2 separate regions of the Homo sapiens genome follow, and region 2 is linked to region 1. Evidence: promoter capture Hi-C in 16 types of primary human blood cells and fetal thymus (Javierre and others, 2016). All regions are on one chromosome and are shown on one strand. Each heading gives the region's core, a stretch centred on a gene start or on the middle of the fragment in contact. The rest is flanking DNA. Distances are from core to core; before and after follow the strand shown.

What was found. The method cuts DNA at HindIII sites, captures the fragments that hold promoters and counts their contacts. A CHiCAGO score of 5 or more calls a contact.
Region 2: a fragment that was not itself captured here is called in contact with the fragment with the promoter of PZP in region 1 in 1 of 17 cell types (endothelial precursors); the score reaches 7.4 in endothelial precursors.

Annotation. Positions count from the first base shown.
Region 1 is chr12:9,203,829-9,211,260 of GRCh38, reverse strand. PZP (PZP alpha-2-macroglobulin like) reads left to right here and starts at 2,866. Exons shown (of 36, transcript NM_002864.3): 1 at 2,866-3,002; 2 at 7,310-7,432. The coding sequence starts at 2,920. It also overlaps a transcript of KLRG1 not described here. The HindIII fragment of the contact is 2,989 bases long and covers 1,667-4,655 here.
Region 2 is chr12:9,096,537-9,103,379 of GRCh38, reverse strand. A2M (alpha-2-macroglobulin) reads left to right here. Exons shown (of 36, transcript NM_000014.6): 12 at 1,706-1,933; 13 at 2,173-2,236; 14 at 3,857-3,999; 15 at 4,624-4,773. It also overlaps a transcript of KLRG1 not described here. Among named protein-coding and RNA genes, the nearest start is that of A2M, 16 kb to the left of the region's middle. The HindIII fragment of the contact is 946 bases long and covers 5,082-6,027 here.

The sequences.
Region 1 (7,432 bases), core at 1,617-4,116:
GAATACCATCAAGCATGCAAATACACATATTATGGGAGTCCTAGAAGGAGAAAAGAGGGAAATGAGCAGAAAGCTTATTTAAAGGAATACTGGAAGAAAAATGTAAAAGCTAGAGTATTGGTGGCAATATGGGGATACGAAAATCCTCATGCACTACTGGTAGAATTGTGGTGTGATGCAACCATTCTGGAGAGTTATTTGTCACTATTTAGTCACTTAAGTACATGCCTCTCATACAACAATCTCACTCCTGTGTATGCGTCTTGCAAGAGGATTTACCTGTCTCAAAGGGTATATGTAAAAAGATATTTATCAAAGCATTATTTCCTCATGGCAGGACAATAGAGACAATCCTGTTTTTATCATTAGGAGAGTGGAAACATTAAACCTCTTGGATGATCACCAAAGAGGGCTATACTGTAATAAAATGCAATTAATAAAATACATACATATAAACATATAAACATGGGAGGATGTTTTAAAACTAGCAATAACTAAAAAGAATAAGAAACAGGCAAGGTCTTTTTCCAATACTCTTTATATAAAATAAAAATACACACTTAAGACTTTCCTTTCCAGTAATGGTATACAAGGTAATTGAGACCAAACTTCCCACTTAAATTAGGAATGGTTGGTTATATATATATTCACTGGAGGTATTGAAAAGCAAAGACTGTGAAGAATTATGAATCCAAAGTTCAGAAGCAACATAGCAACCCAAAGGGGCAATTCTGTGTTTAAGGGCACTTTCCCCTTAGGGTATTTAACAGCTCCAGAATATTTGGCTGAGAGATTTAGAAGCACATTTTAAAGCCTTTAGTAAATAAAATTGCAGCGTCTAGAGTCCAAGGCTCATGAAACTGGGGCAAGGAGATGTTCCTGATAGACCCTTTACATATTGTGTTGAGATATCAAACTGATGGTAGAATTCAAATGGTCCATAAACATATGAAAAGATGTGTAAAGTCATTAATAATGAAAATTAAGGCAAGATACTGCTTCACTCATCAGATTGATAAAAAGTAAAATGCCTAGCAGAGTAAAACGATGGTAAATATATAATAAACTGAAAATATCCACTGTTGCAGATGGGTATTCAAATCCATGTAATACTCTGAAGAGCAATTTACCAATCTGATAGATTTCAAGATGTACATACATATATAGCCTATAACCCAATCTCTGCTATATACCCTAGAGAAAGTCTTGCAAATATGCTTAAGTAGACATACCGTATTTGTAGCAGTATTATTTGTAATGTTGAAAACTATGAAGAATCCAAAATTCAGCACTAGGGGAATAGAGTAACAGGTTCGGCCACATTCATACAATAGAATGTCGTATAGATGGTCATTAAAATTAATAAATTTTATCCTCATTATCAATGCTAATAAGTCTTAAAACCATAATAGTGATGACATATTTTACAATATGTGCATACCACTTATACATATAAAATACAAAACACAAAATTATGCTATATATTATTTACATAAATATGGATTAAAAACATAAACACATCTTGAAGAATACATATCAACTTCCTAATCCCACAACATTGGAAGGGAAATGAGATTGGAGAGAATTACAAAGGAAACTCCAACCATATTTGTCTTGATTTATTTCTTTTTTTGGGTTGGTGGATCTGGTAAAAACTGGAAAAGCTTCTAGACAAATTTTAAAAGAGCACTACCATTGCCATCTTTCATTTCTTAAGAAGAAATGACCTTAAACAAACTTGGCAAGTGTTTAATTTTATTAAAGTTGGGTGCATGTAAGGTACGAGTGTCTTTTATCTTGCTCTCTATATTTGTGAGTATATATATATATAACATTTCATAATTTAAAAGAAATTATTTCATTCTATGATAATGTGACAAAAGAAACAAAGATGTGAAATAAAAACTAATAGGAAGGAATCCACTTTCAGCAGTGTGGCCAGGAATTTGCTCTCCAAAGAAGGGATGATTAGGCTGAAATATGGAGAAAGAGAAAGAAAGTTGATTTAAAAAGTTTCAAGCAATACAGTATGTAAACAGACACCAATGTCTGCAGTCTAAGGATGGCATTAAATCTGCTGGTGGTTTATATGTGATCATCATTGTACTACAAGTTCTATGAGAGCATGGATACTGAATATCCTGTTCAATATTGTATTTTCATCACCAGAATAGCACTTAGCACACAGTATGGCTCAAAAAAAAAATCTCAGATAAAGTCAATGACATGGTTTAAGGGACTCAAACGTTAGAGTGCTCAGACAGTAACAAGGACAGATAGGATCAACTAAGAATCTGATCAGGTCAATGCTGTGAAATAGACAAGTGTGATCTTTGATAACTCCTTTCTAAAATCTCTTTGATCTTTTATCTCTTTTATCTTTCATTGATCCTCTACTCTTGAAATCCTTATTTTATATCACTTTCTTCCAGGACCATGTACTCAATCAACTGCTAAAAAAGAAAACCCAAAAACCCTAAAGTCTATAGTTATAACTCACTCAGTCCCAGAAATGAATCTGCAATGCATGAGCTACTATCATGGTAACATGTCCCTGACATTCTTTGTCAGCATCCTTTGTCACCTGCTTGTAAGGATTTTGAAAGAGATGGAGAAAGGTAGGTTGAAGGTTCCTTATCAGGAGGTTTGCTGTCAAAGCTCATTCTAAATGGAATACAAATTTTATCTTCCAGACATGCCTCAGTACCTATCAGAATTTAGCCTTGAGAAAAATGAGGCAACCACTGAGAGTAATGACCCTTTTAGGGAATCTGTGCTCAATTCTGAACTCTATTCAGAGGCCTTGGGGTGGGGCTTGTTTGTACATAGTGGCCACATAAAGCCTGGTAAACTCAGCTGGTCTCCAGGGCGAGGCTGAGGGCAGAGAGTTGGACACAACCCTGAGATTTATCCCTCACAATGCGGAAAGACAGACTTCTTCATTTATGTCTTGTGCTACTTCTTATCCTGCTTTCTGCCAGTGACTCAAACTCTACAGAACCGTAAGTCTCACTCAAGACCCCTTCCTCCAGAGTGCGTTTCAGTCTCTCCCTTGTGTCTTCGCTTTGCCTTCCTTTGTAAATGCCACCTTTCCACTCATTACAATACCTTCCAAATATAAGAAATTATTCCAGTTAATCCCTTGTTTGTCTTTCATTTATCCTCTATTCTTGAAATCATTTTTTCTACACTGGGCCAATCAGAGTCATAAATACGATTAGTCACTAGGAAGCATGATTAAATAAAACACTAGATCCCAACTTCACAGAACAGTTCTTTTGGATGGAAGGCACTGAATATAGAGATATTCGAAATATATAGTGAAGTGCAACTTAACATGTATTGTAGGCCATATATATATATACAGAAAGTATAGCTCCTTTATTTTTCAATCATGTATCAAGTCTTCACCAACAGCCCCCAGTGGGGGACCAAAGCAGGGAAAATAATTTTAACCCTATCCAGTTGTAAGTTGGTACAACTCAATAATTGTAAGACTTCTTTTCCACCTCTCCCCAGTTCCTCTCCTCTATAGTGTCTAGAGAACTGTGGTCTCCATTAACTCCTAATAGAGAAAACTGTCAGAGTCCTTGGTCTCAAAGTTCTCCGTCCTTCTTGGCTACTGTCAGTCTGACTTCTCCTTACTTGCTGGCATGCACTGTTGAAGTTTAGCCATCTGGTTTCTCTTGTGTGTTCAGGACCCAACAGTCCTCTCTAACTGACTGTCTCACTTCAGCTGTTTCATATCCCATAGAACTCCTACCTTTGCATCCTGCCTCAAATACTATGGCTATTGTTTCAACACAGCCTGTGATGCAGGGTCACCTTGCCCCTTTGCAGTCCAGGCCATTTAAGGTCCCTGGCCTTAACCCAGCTGCCTTTACATTTCTTCCAGAGAATGGTGAGAACTCTTGGGTCCAATAATAGCACATAGGCACTGAGGTGTCCTGGAGAGGTTAAACTTCTACCTCTCTCTTGCATACCCACACTGCACTTCTAGATGCCTATCGTGTCTCCTGTATTCCAGACTGATACAGGGAAGTCTTCAGAGTCCCAAATCGGGAAAGGGATAAGGGGTCCCTCTGCTCTGTGTGTTACCCTTATCCATCTAACACAAATAGCCTTCTTCAGGCCAAAGCGCAGAAAGCAGAAATAAGGAGTTCAATCCAGTAAGTCTCCTGCTTTCCTCAGGCTTTTTCCTTGCACAATTTCCTGGCAACCGGTAGGGGTACATTTCTCCCCCACTATCCCTCTACCTCATCTACAGCAGTGGGCTCTACTACTTCCAGCTGCTCTCCATCCAGAAAGCATATGGGAATATGTGGAGGCTATTTTGCTTTCTGAGAGCAGACTGAATGGATAAAGCGAGTAGCGTGTATTGGGTCAGAAACATTAAGCAATTTGTGGTTCTGGATGCATTCCTACACTACATTGGACCATGCTGCCATTGAAACCATCCTTTTACGTTGTGTCTGCCACTGAACAAAGAACAACAAGCCTCATGCCCTAGTTGTCACAAGCAGAAGGGGTGTTTTCTCCCTTTATAAGGAGAAAACTTAACTTCATCCCTCCAGAATTAACCCTTGATGTGATAAATGTGAGAGACTACAAAAGAGAACCAATAGCCATTCTCCCCTGCCTTGGGGCAGTAAGCTTCAGAAAGATGAAGGTTTCAGGGGAATAAAATGAAAAAGAGAAAATTAAAAGTTATCACTTTAATATTTGCTACATTTAGTCCCTGCTAAAGAGGCAAATATTTAAAATGCAAACATTCATGATTGAGTAAACATATATTAAAACATTTTAGCAGCTCACTACCAATGACATCTTGGGCAAGTTTGTCAACCTGGATTTGTTCTGATTTCAATATCTGTTAAAAAAATATTAACTGAACTCATATAAAATAGTTCTTTAGAATATCAAATATATGTGGAATTAATTTTTAATCGTGATATCTTTTAGGCTTATAATTTATAAGAATAAAAATAGTAAATAAATTATAAATATATATATACCTTCTTATTAAGATCAAAGAACTAAAGGAAAAATTTTTTGATGGGGATGTAAAAAATGATACATTTTTATTATTTATTATGCTGTTAAAAGAGCAGTGATCAGGAGATCAGAAGCATCCAGATACCAGAAAAAGATTAAGACATAAGAGACTAGCTGAATGACTATCAGTGAGTTACTGAACTGCCCTCAGCTTCTCTGCTAGAGAACAAAACCTTACTACTCATACAGTAAAATCATCTGAAACTTGGATGATTTCAGAGTGGCCCTGGAGATTCATGGCATATAGTTTTGCCCAGGAACACTTTAAAACACATGTAGCAAGACTGGTGTGCTGGAGCAGACTACATGGAGGATGAGGGGACCAAATTTGAGTTCCACATTCCACAACTCAATTATCCTTGGATTCTCTCCTCCTAGTCTCACACCTATTAATTTTGTAAAGCAACAATATTGGGTTTCTTGTGTCAAATTGCCTGTCCAGAAAACAATTTAAAAAGTAAGAGTTTATGTTGGCAATGGAAAGTAAGGGTAGTAAAATAATATAAGAAAATAATAGTTTTTACTTGCAAATTTACTCTATAAATGGCCTAACCCTGCAGATATTGAATCATGAATCACTGAATCATTAAAGCTTTGAAGAGTTACATTTTAGTCACAATTTACTGATTTTACTGATTTGGCATGGGGGCAGGGATTTTATCTATCTGTTATGGATTCAAGTTTTGGGGACTGATGAGGATCTCATGTTTTAGCTTCCATGAACATGGAGAGTATCATGCATGTACCTTACAGCATTGCTGGGAAGATTAAATGGCTTAATACAGAGACAGCTTAACAATTCTTGTCATGTGGCAGATGCTCAAAAACAGCAACAACAAAAACACATTCTCTTTCAGCCCATGGGATTTCAGAGTGTGGAGAGATTATATTGAATTGGAGGCTTCTGGAAAGTGACAGGAAAATATGGAGTGGGGGGCATTAGAGACAAAGGACACTCATCAATAAAGCTAAGGCCAGAATGTGAGGCTTACACAAAAAATTGCCTGTGCCTCTGAAAAACTGAAAACTTTCAACAATTTAAATAAAAAAGAAAAGACTTTTCAAAATAATATGACTTTTAGTACTCATATAAACTTTGTTTTGTTTTTTTTTGAAACAGGGTCTCACTCTGTCACTCTGAAAGCACTGGTGCAATCATAGCTCACTGTAGCCTCAACCTCGTGGGCTTAAGTGATCCTTCTTGCCTCAGCCTCCTGAGTAACTGCTACTACAGCCATGTGCCACCTGGCTAAATTTTTTATTTTAATTTTTGTAGAGATGGGGGACCTCACAATGTTGTGCAGGCTGTTCTCAAACTCCTGGCCTCAAGTGACTCTCCTGCCTCAGCCTCCCAAAGTGCCGGGAACTAGGTATAAGCCACTTCTCCCAGCCTGAACCTGTTTGTTTTTTTTTATTGAAAAGATAACCTATCCACCCATGTGATTCGAAACAAACATGTTTATAAACATGGACATACTAATATTAAATTATTAATGTTAATTGCCTCAAGAAATTGAGCATAAAGGGAAATGATAATAAAATACAGTGTGTGTTTGTGTAGTGTGTGTGTAGCAGGGAGTTGTGCATGTAAATAATTGACAAAATTTTCAAACTCGTTGATAAAATATTGACTTTGACTGAGCTGTATCTGAGGAGCCTAAGAGAAACAGCAAATACTTTTTTTCAGTGTTGCTGATATTAAGAAAATGATTTTGCAATATAGACATGTGTTATTTTGTGTAATGATATATGCTTACTGAAGTTCTTTCAGTTGAATTTCTGTAAATCTAGTCACGGTGTTCATTCCAAAGTGATGTTTATCTAGACAGATTTTAATGTAAGTCCTTTTTACAATGAATAATCACTCCCAATTTTTTATATATGTGTGTGTGTTTGTGTGCGTGCACTTTTATGGATATATATTCAAGAATTCAGATTCTTTTTAAAGGTCAAAGTTAAAGTTTAAAGAGCTCAGACTGCTCTTTACAGCAAGGAATGCCTGTGAAATTGTAACATCTTGGAAAGCAATCTCCAGTGTTGTATGGCTCCAGATTGTGTGGCTGAGGCATGGCTGATGAGTAAAAGATAAAATTTTTGTGCTGATCTGTGACAGAACCTCCATTGACTTAGTCCATTGACTTTTAGAATAAAACTGATTGCACCAATTAATACATATTGTTATGAAAACACATTTATGGATGAAAACGCTTACTATCATCAGTTTTTCTCTAATTTAGACTTCTTCCTTTCCCAGGCAGTATATGGTGCTGGTCCCCTCCCTGCTCCACACTGAGGCCCCTAAGAAGGGCTGTGTCCTTCTGAGCCACCTGAATGAGACAGTGACTGTAAGTGCTTCCTTGGAGTCTGGCAGGGAAAA
Region 2 (6,843 bases), core at 4,305-6,804, 110 kb after region 1:
TGAATCAGATAAAGTGGTTAAAAATACTGGCTCAACCCTATTTTAAGGAATTAACTAAAACCTCTGTGCTTCATTTCCTTATCTGTAAAATGATTGCAATACTAACACCTGACTCTTGGGGTGGTTGTGAAGATTAAGTGAAATCATACATGTTGAATCACTTAGTAAGCCCCCTTTAACTGTTAGATACTTTTACTATAAAAGCCAATTCTAACATAATTAGCATTTAGTTTTAAATATATATACTCCAAAAATTATTACCTTACTTTATTTTGTCTTGCTATTCTAATTTTCTCCAGATGACCTGTTCATACCAATATAAGTTATTCGGTATAGCATGCAGTCCTCTATTCATCAAGAGAGATGTAGACATGTCTATAGATACATGGATATACAATACATATTTAATATATATTACATAATCATGGTAATGGAAAACGCCTGCCTCTTTAGAGTTTTACCTTGTTATAGAGAAATAAATAATACATTTTATTTATTTAGCTTTAATAGATGGCATAAAAGCACCTCCCTCTAATTTGAATGTTTACTCATTTCAAAAAGTGTCTTGAATGCTTTCCACGTGCCAGCACTGTGCTAGTCTTGACAATGAAATTATTATTTCTACCTGTTCCCTGTTTGGGGTGATCATATATGTGTTGTCACCAAAATATACATTAAGATATGAACAAAATGTTTTGCTCAAGGATTCACTAGTGCTATTGGGAGCTGGGGATGAAGGTAGAGGAAGCCTGAAAGGAGCTAAGGAATAACTTCTACAGGAAGAAAAGTTGGAAATATAACCCAAATAGGGCCTCTGAGGTATTAGAATCCAGATTGCAGGGAGCATTAAAAATAGTCAGCCTAGGCCAGGCACGGTAGCTCACGCCTGTAATCCCAGCACTTTGGGAGGCTGAGGTGGGTGGATTGCGTGAGGCCAGGAGATCGAGACGAGCCTAGGCAACGTGGTGAAACCCTGTCTCTACAAAATATACAAAAAATTAGCTGGGTGGGGTGGCATGCACCTGTAGTCCTAGCAACTCAGGAGGCTGACTGGGAGGATCACTTGAGCCCCAGAGGCAGAGATTGCACTGAGCCAAGATTGTGCCACTGTACTCCAGCATGGGCGCCAGAGCAAAACCCTGTCTCAAAAAAATAATAATAATAGCAATCAGCCTAAGATAGCCCAGAAGAGGTAGACTTCAGCTAATTCATCAGCTCAGCTCTTAAACCAATGCTTTCTACCAATGTCTTCTCAGACCCCTAAGGTTACAATATTTTATTTATTCATAATACCCATTCAAAATCCACCCTAAAAGAGGCAGCTGCTTTCTGAAAGCACAGTTCTTCCATTTCTAGAGATTATTTACTCTCCTCAATGAAGTTTCATAGCTCCAGTGTCTCTAATTGCACAGGTAAAGCAGTCAAAGAAATTTCAAGCAAGCTAATCAGAGCAAAGGATGCCTCCTTTTATGCTCTTAAGAAATATAAATCTCAATCCCAGGAGGCTCTGCAGTGTAAAGTCACAAAGCATGCCTACATTTGAAGCAGAGAAACAAAATCAGGGGTCCTTCTCCCACTTTTCATTGTGGAACAAAAGATTTCTAGCTACTAGTTAAGGTAGGACAGTAAACTTACGTAGTTTTGTGAGAACATTAATCTTTATGACGTATAATCTAAAAATAATATAATTTTTCTAATTCATTAGGTCAATTACAAGGATCGTAGTCCCTGTTACGGCTACCAGTGGGTGTCAGAAGAACACGAAGAGGCACATCACACTGCTTATCTTGTGTTCTCCCCAAGCAAGAGCTTTGTCCACCTTGAGCCCATGTCTCATGAACTACCCTGTGGCCATACTCAGACAGTCCAGGCACATTATATTCTGAATGGAGGCACCCTGCTGGGGCTGAAGAAGCTCTCCTTCTATTATCTGGTGAGAAGGGAGGTTACTGCGTTGACTTCACTGTAGACAAAAGCTCTCTGTGGAGCAAGTAATCATGAAGCTCTTTAGATGTCATTACTTCAACTTCTTATCCATGTTCCTTTTGAAAGTTTGATTTCTCTTGAGGTGAATTATTGCCGGCAGGGACTCAATAAAACAAGTATATTGAAGTGAGACTGAAGCGTGTTCTCTCTGGCACATTTAATTTCTTTTTATTTCCTTTTTTGCAGATAATGGCAAAGGGAGGCATTGTCCGAACTGGGACTCATGGACTGCTTGTGAAGCAGGAAGACAGTGAGTATTTCCATCATCTCTGCATTGCTGCCCCATTCTGACCCATTCAGCCTTACACCACGGAAGTATCAGAATACTTTCCCTTTTTTTCCATAGGTTTTTGGGGGAACAGGTGGTGTTTGGTCACATGAATGAATAAATTCTTTGGTAGTGATTTCCGAGATTTTGGTGCACCCATCACCCGAGCAGTATACATTGTACCCAATTTGCAGTCTTTTATCCCTCACCCCCTTCCACCCTTCCCCCTGAATCCACAAAGTCCATTGTATCATTCTTATGCCTTTGCATCCTCATAACTTAGCTCCCACTTCCTAATAGCTTAGCTGCCACTTCCTAATAGCTTAGCTCCTACTTCTGAGTGAGAAGATATGATGTTTGGTTTTCCATTCCTGAGCTGGGAATATCAGGAATACTTTCAAGTAACGAGAGACCATTTCCATCTAATATTAATTAAAAGAAAGTTGAGGGAGGGAAAACAATAATGGTTTTTTTCTCACCCTTTATCAAATATGTGTTGTCTTTTTTTTCAGCCTATTTTCTTTGCGTTATTTAAAATATTGGTGTGGGCCAGCTATGATGGCTTACGCCTGTAATCCCAGTACTTTGGGAGAACGGGATGGGAGGATCTCTTGAGGTCAGGAGTTTGAGACCAGCCTGGTCAACATAGTGAGACCCCATCTCTATAAAAGTAAATAAATAAATAAATAAATAAATAAGAACAAAGGGGGAAAAATAAAATACATAAAATATTGTTGTGTATAATCTATGCTTATTCCAGATTTTTAAACCATAAATATTCTTGAACCTCTTCTCAAAATGAGAATTGTGTTAGAGAATGGGGTGGAGAAAATGTACGATTTCAAGGTATGTTGTATATACCAGGTCTTGTGCTGAGTCATTTATGTCATTTATATTATTATAAATATCTTTTTTCCCTTTCAAGATAGTTATGATTTATGAAGCATTAAATTGGGTACTTCTACCGACTGAAGCGGACTCTTGCCATGAGCAAATATGTCATAATATAAACCTTTGAAGGTTGCTCCTAGTCTAGTAGACTCTAAAAGATAACTTGCTAGAAAAGTATCAGTAATCTACTCTCTCATTAGTTCTTGTAGCAACACAGAAGCACCATAGCAGACTGAAGGAAACTTAATGCAACCTCTAAAGAATCTACATAGGCATCAAAAAATAACTTCTGAAGGAGCATGGTGTTCCTCTTATGGAGAAAGAACCAAATATTGGCTCATAGAAGGTTAAAGAGCATGTAGCATGAATACAATGTGTTGAACTCTTACTCTTACATCTCATAACTTCAGGTTCTATTTCCCTCTTCTAGTATGAGGCCTAGATCAAATGGTAGTGAATTGGATGTCTTCATACCCTTAACTAGCATCAGAACATTAGGTGGGTGAGCTGAAGCTTAAAGCTGGTGAAAAATCAACAGAGTATATGATTTATGAGAGGAGAGAGGGCTTTGATAGGGTTTTTTTCTAAAGCTAGAGTCCTTAGAGGTAATCATCCATTTGTTACATCTACTGTTTATTATGTCTGTTACATCTACTAATGGAAATAGTCATTAACCTATGATGGCTTCCTCTCATTCTCTTTGTGCCCCAGTGAAGGGCCATTTTTCCATCTCAATCCCTGTGAAGTCAGACATTGCTCCTGTCGCTCGGTTGCTCATCTATGCTGTTTTACCTACCGGGGACGTGATTGGGGATTCTGCAAAATATGATGTTGAAAATTGTCTGGCCAACAAGGTGTGTGTTTTAGATCATAAAATCTTCAACATGTAAAACTAGAAGTTACTATTGTTATCATTTGTTTTACACATGTGAACATTAGGGCCAAAAGGGTTAAACAAATTCCCCAGAGACATTCAGCAAGGTAGTGGCAGAGTCACACTAAGAAGCAGAATCACTTGATTCCTTATACAAAACTCTCAAACTTCTCCTAGCAGTGCCTCTTACCAATTACACAGTTCAGAGTATGTTATTCCCTTCTTCTATGATGAAACGTTGGGAAATATGTAAGCAAGTTTTTAAGACTACTAAGGAGCCAAAAGAAAAATGCAAGAGCACCTAGACCCATGCATGTCCCACCACAATTAATGAGCACCTTGCCGTGTATCAAAGATAAAAATGGCATTTCATGACTAGTAATTTATAAGAATAATTAGAAATAATTCTACTGGCTCAAGTGATTCTTGAGAATGAAAGAGAAGTGTAGGGAACAAAAAGCTTCAGGATTGACACAATGCCAACCCTCCACGAAGTCAAGCAGAGTGGTTATACATTGTACATGAGGAACACTCTGCAAATGCGAGTGAATGCATGGGTAAACCTGGAAATTTGCTTTTCTGACCTTTTGTTCCAATTTCACAGGTGGATTTGAGCTTCAGCCCATCACAAAGTCTCCCAGCCTCACACGCCCACCTGCGAGTCACAGCGGCTCCTCAGTCCGTCTGCGCCCTCCGTGCTGTGGACCAAAGCGTGCTGCTCATGAAGCCTGATGCTGAGCTCTCGGCGTCCTCGGTGAGTTCCTGGCAGCCTCAGGAATCAAGAAGGGCCGTGCCAGGGGCTCAGAGCAAGGAAAAATGACTGGATAAGTAGGATAAGATCAATTAAAATTATATTTATCTAGGAATTAATTGCTTTGAGCTCTCTTGTGGGCTTTCATTGGTAAGGAATTATATATATATATATATATAACTACTCACTTCTGCAGTTAAAAAAATAAACAAAATACAATATATTGAATCAAATAAAAGAATTTTTAAAAGGACAAAATGTGATGAAAATTAACAACCAAAAAAGGACTCGTTATTCAGACACGTTAAGCTTCTTGCTCAAGAGCACATAGCAATACAAATTCAAATCTTCTGATTGTGTCAGGACATCCGTATATGCAAGGCTGGAGAGAATACAGAGCAGATTGTGAAAAGTGCTATATGAGAAGTGCAGTTATGCAAAATAAAAGAAAGGATTAACTGAGCAACCGGGGAAGCCGTTCGAAAATTATATATTTAAAATGTAAAAAGACCATACAGTACCCAAAGTCCTTAAAATCCCAGAGCTCCATGCAACCAGTAATAGGAGTTGTCAAACTAGTTTCAACATTTCAAAAAGCCTAACAAAAGTGATACATATACCTGCACTGAGGCTATACAGGCTAAATGAAATATCAGATTTCCGTTTTTATAAGAATTATGGCTGGGCCTGGTGGCTCACGCCTGTAATCCCAACACTGGGAGGCCAAGGCAGGCAGATAACTTGAGATCAGGAGTTTGAGACCAGTCTGGCCAATATAATGAAACCCCGTATCTACTAAAAATACAAAAATTAGTCAGACGTGGTGGCGGGCGCCTGTCATCCCAGCTACTCAGGAGGCTGAGGCAGGAGAATCACTTGAACCCAGGAGGCAGAGGTTGAGTGAGCCGAGATCGTGCCACTGCACTCCAGCCTGGGCAATAGAGCAAGACTTGGTGTCAAAAAAAAAAAAAAAAAAAGAATTACATCAGTTGAAATAATTGCTGTCCCAAGCTACACATAATTTCTGAGGGAACATATGTATTATCTCTGAGGAACAAAACTTAGGGAAATTGAACTACTATATAATTGACATTGATAACTGAACTCTTTGAAAATATGGAGCTAATAGAAGAAATACCAAAAGGATATGCTGAATTGGAACAACAAAAACTAGTTAATAGCATGTACTAATAGTAGTTTGCTCACATCTTCAAATTTTTAATATGAGACCAATTGTAATAACCTCTTACTGAAGCTTTTTCTACTACCATAATTTAACAAAGAGAAATTTATATTTTTATTTTCCTGAAATAGAAACTTATAAAAAAATGTTTCTTACTTGTTTGTCCTTCTAATGGGATTTTAACTGAAAATATTAGAATACTTCTAAAGGAAGCATCAAGTACATTTCAACAGTAGGATCTCAAGAGGATATGTGGGAAAATAATATACATGTTTTATACTTTTATAATATAATTTTATAATTCTCAAAGAATTTTTCAAATTATAACAACCCTGATGGGTAGATAAGGCAGACAGTCCTATTTATTAATAATAAAGCAGAAGCTTTCAGGGATTTAGTAGTAGACCTGAGTTAAAACACCAACTCTTCTCAAGCTTTGATTAGTGTCTTACCAATGAAACACTTTGCTGCTACTAGTGTAGGTCATTCATTCAACACATTTATTTAATGCCCACTGTGTTCTAGGTATTATACTAAGTGCTAGTAGAGATCAAGCAGTGAGCTACTGGAAAGATAAAAATGTATGTCTCATGGAACTTACATTGTCTGTCCCATAGATGAGACAGACAATAATTATGCAATATGCCACAATAAAAGCAGGGAGAGGAAATGAGAAATGTTAAGATACTTTGAGAAAGTGTCTAATTTCATCACACCACTCACTTTGCTCATCTGTTCTTGTCAATCAGTTTTAAACTCCTACGAATATAATGCAATGTAACTATCACAATTTTTATGTCTGTCTTACTTCTCACCTTCAAATGGACTTGAAAGCATCATGCCTAGAATTTTACGGTTAAAGTTGTATGTATTATATGAAGATCTGGAGC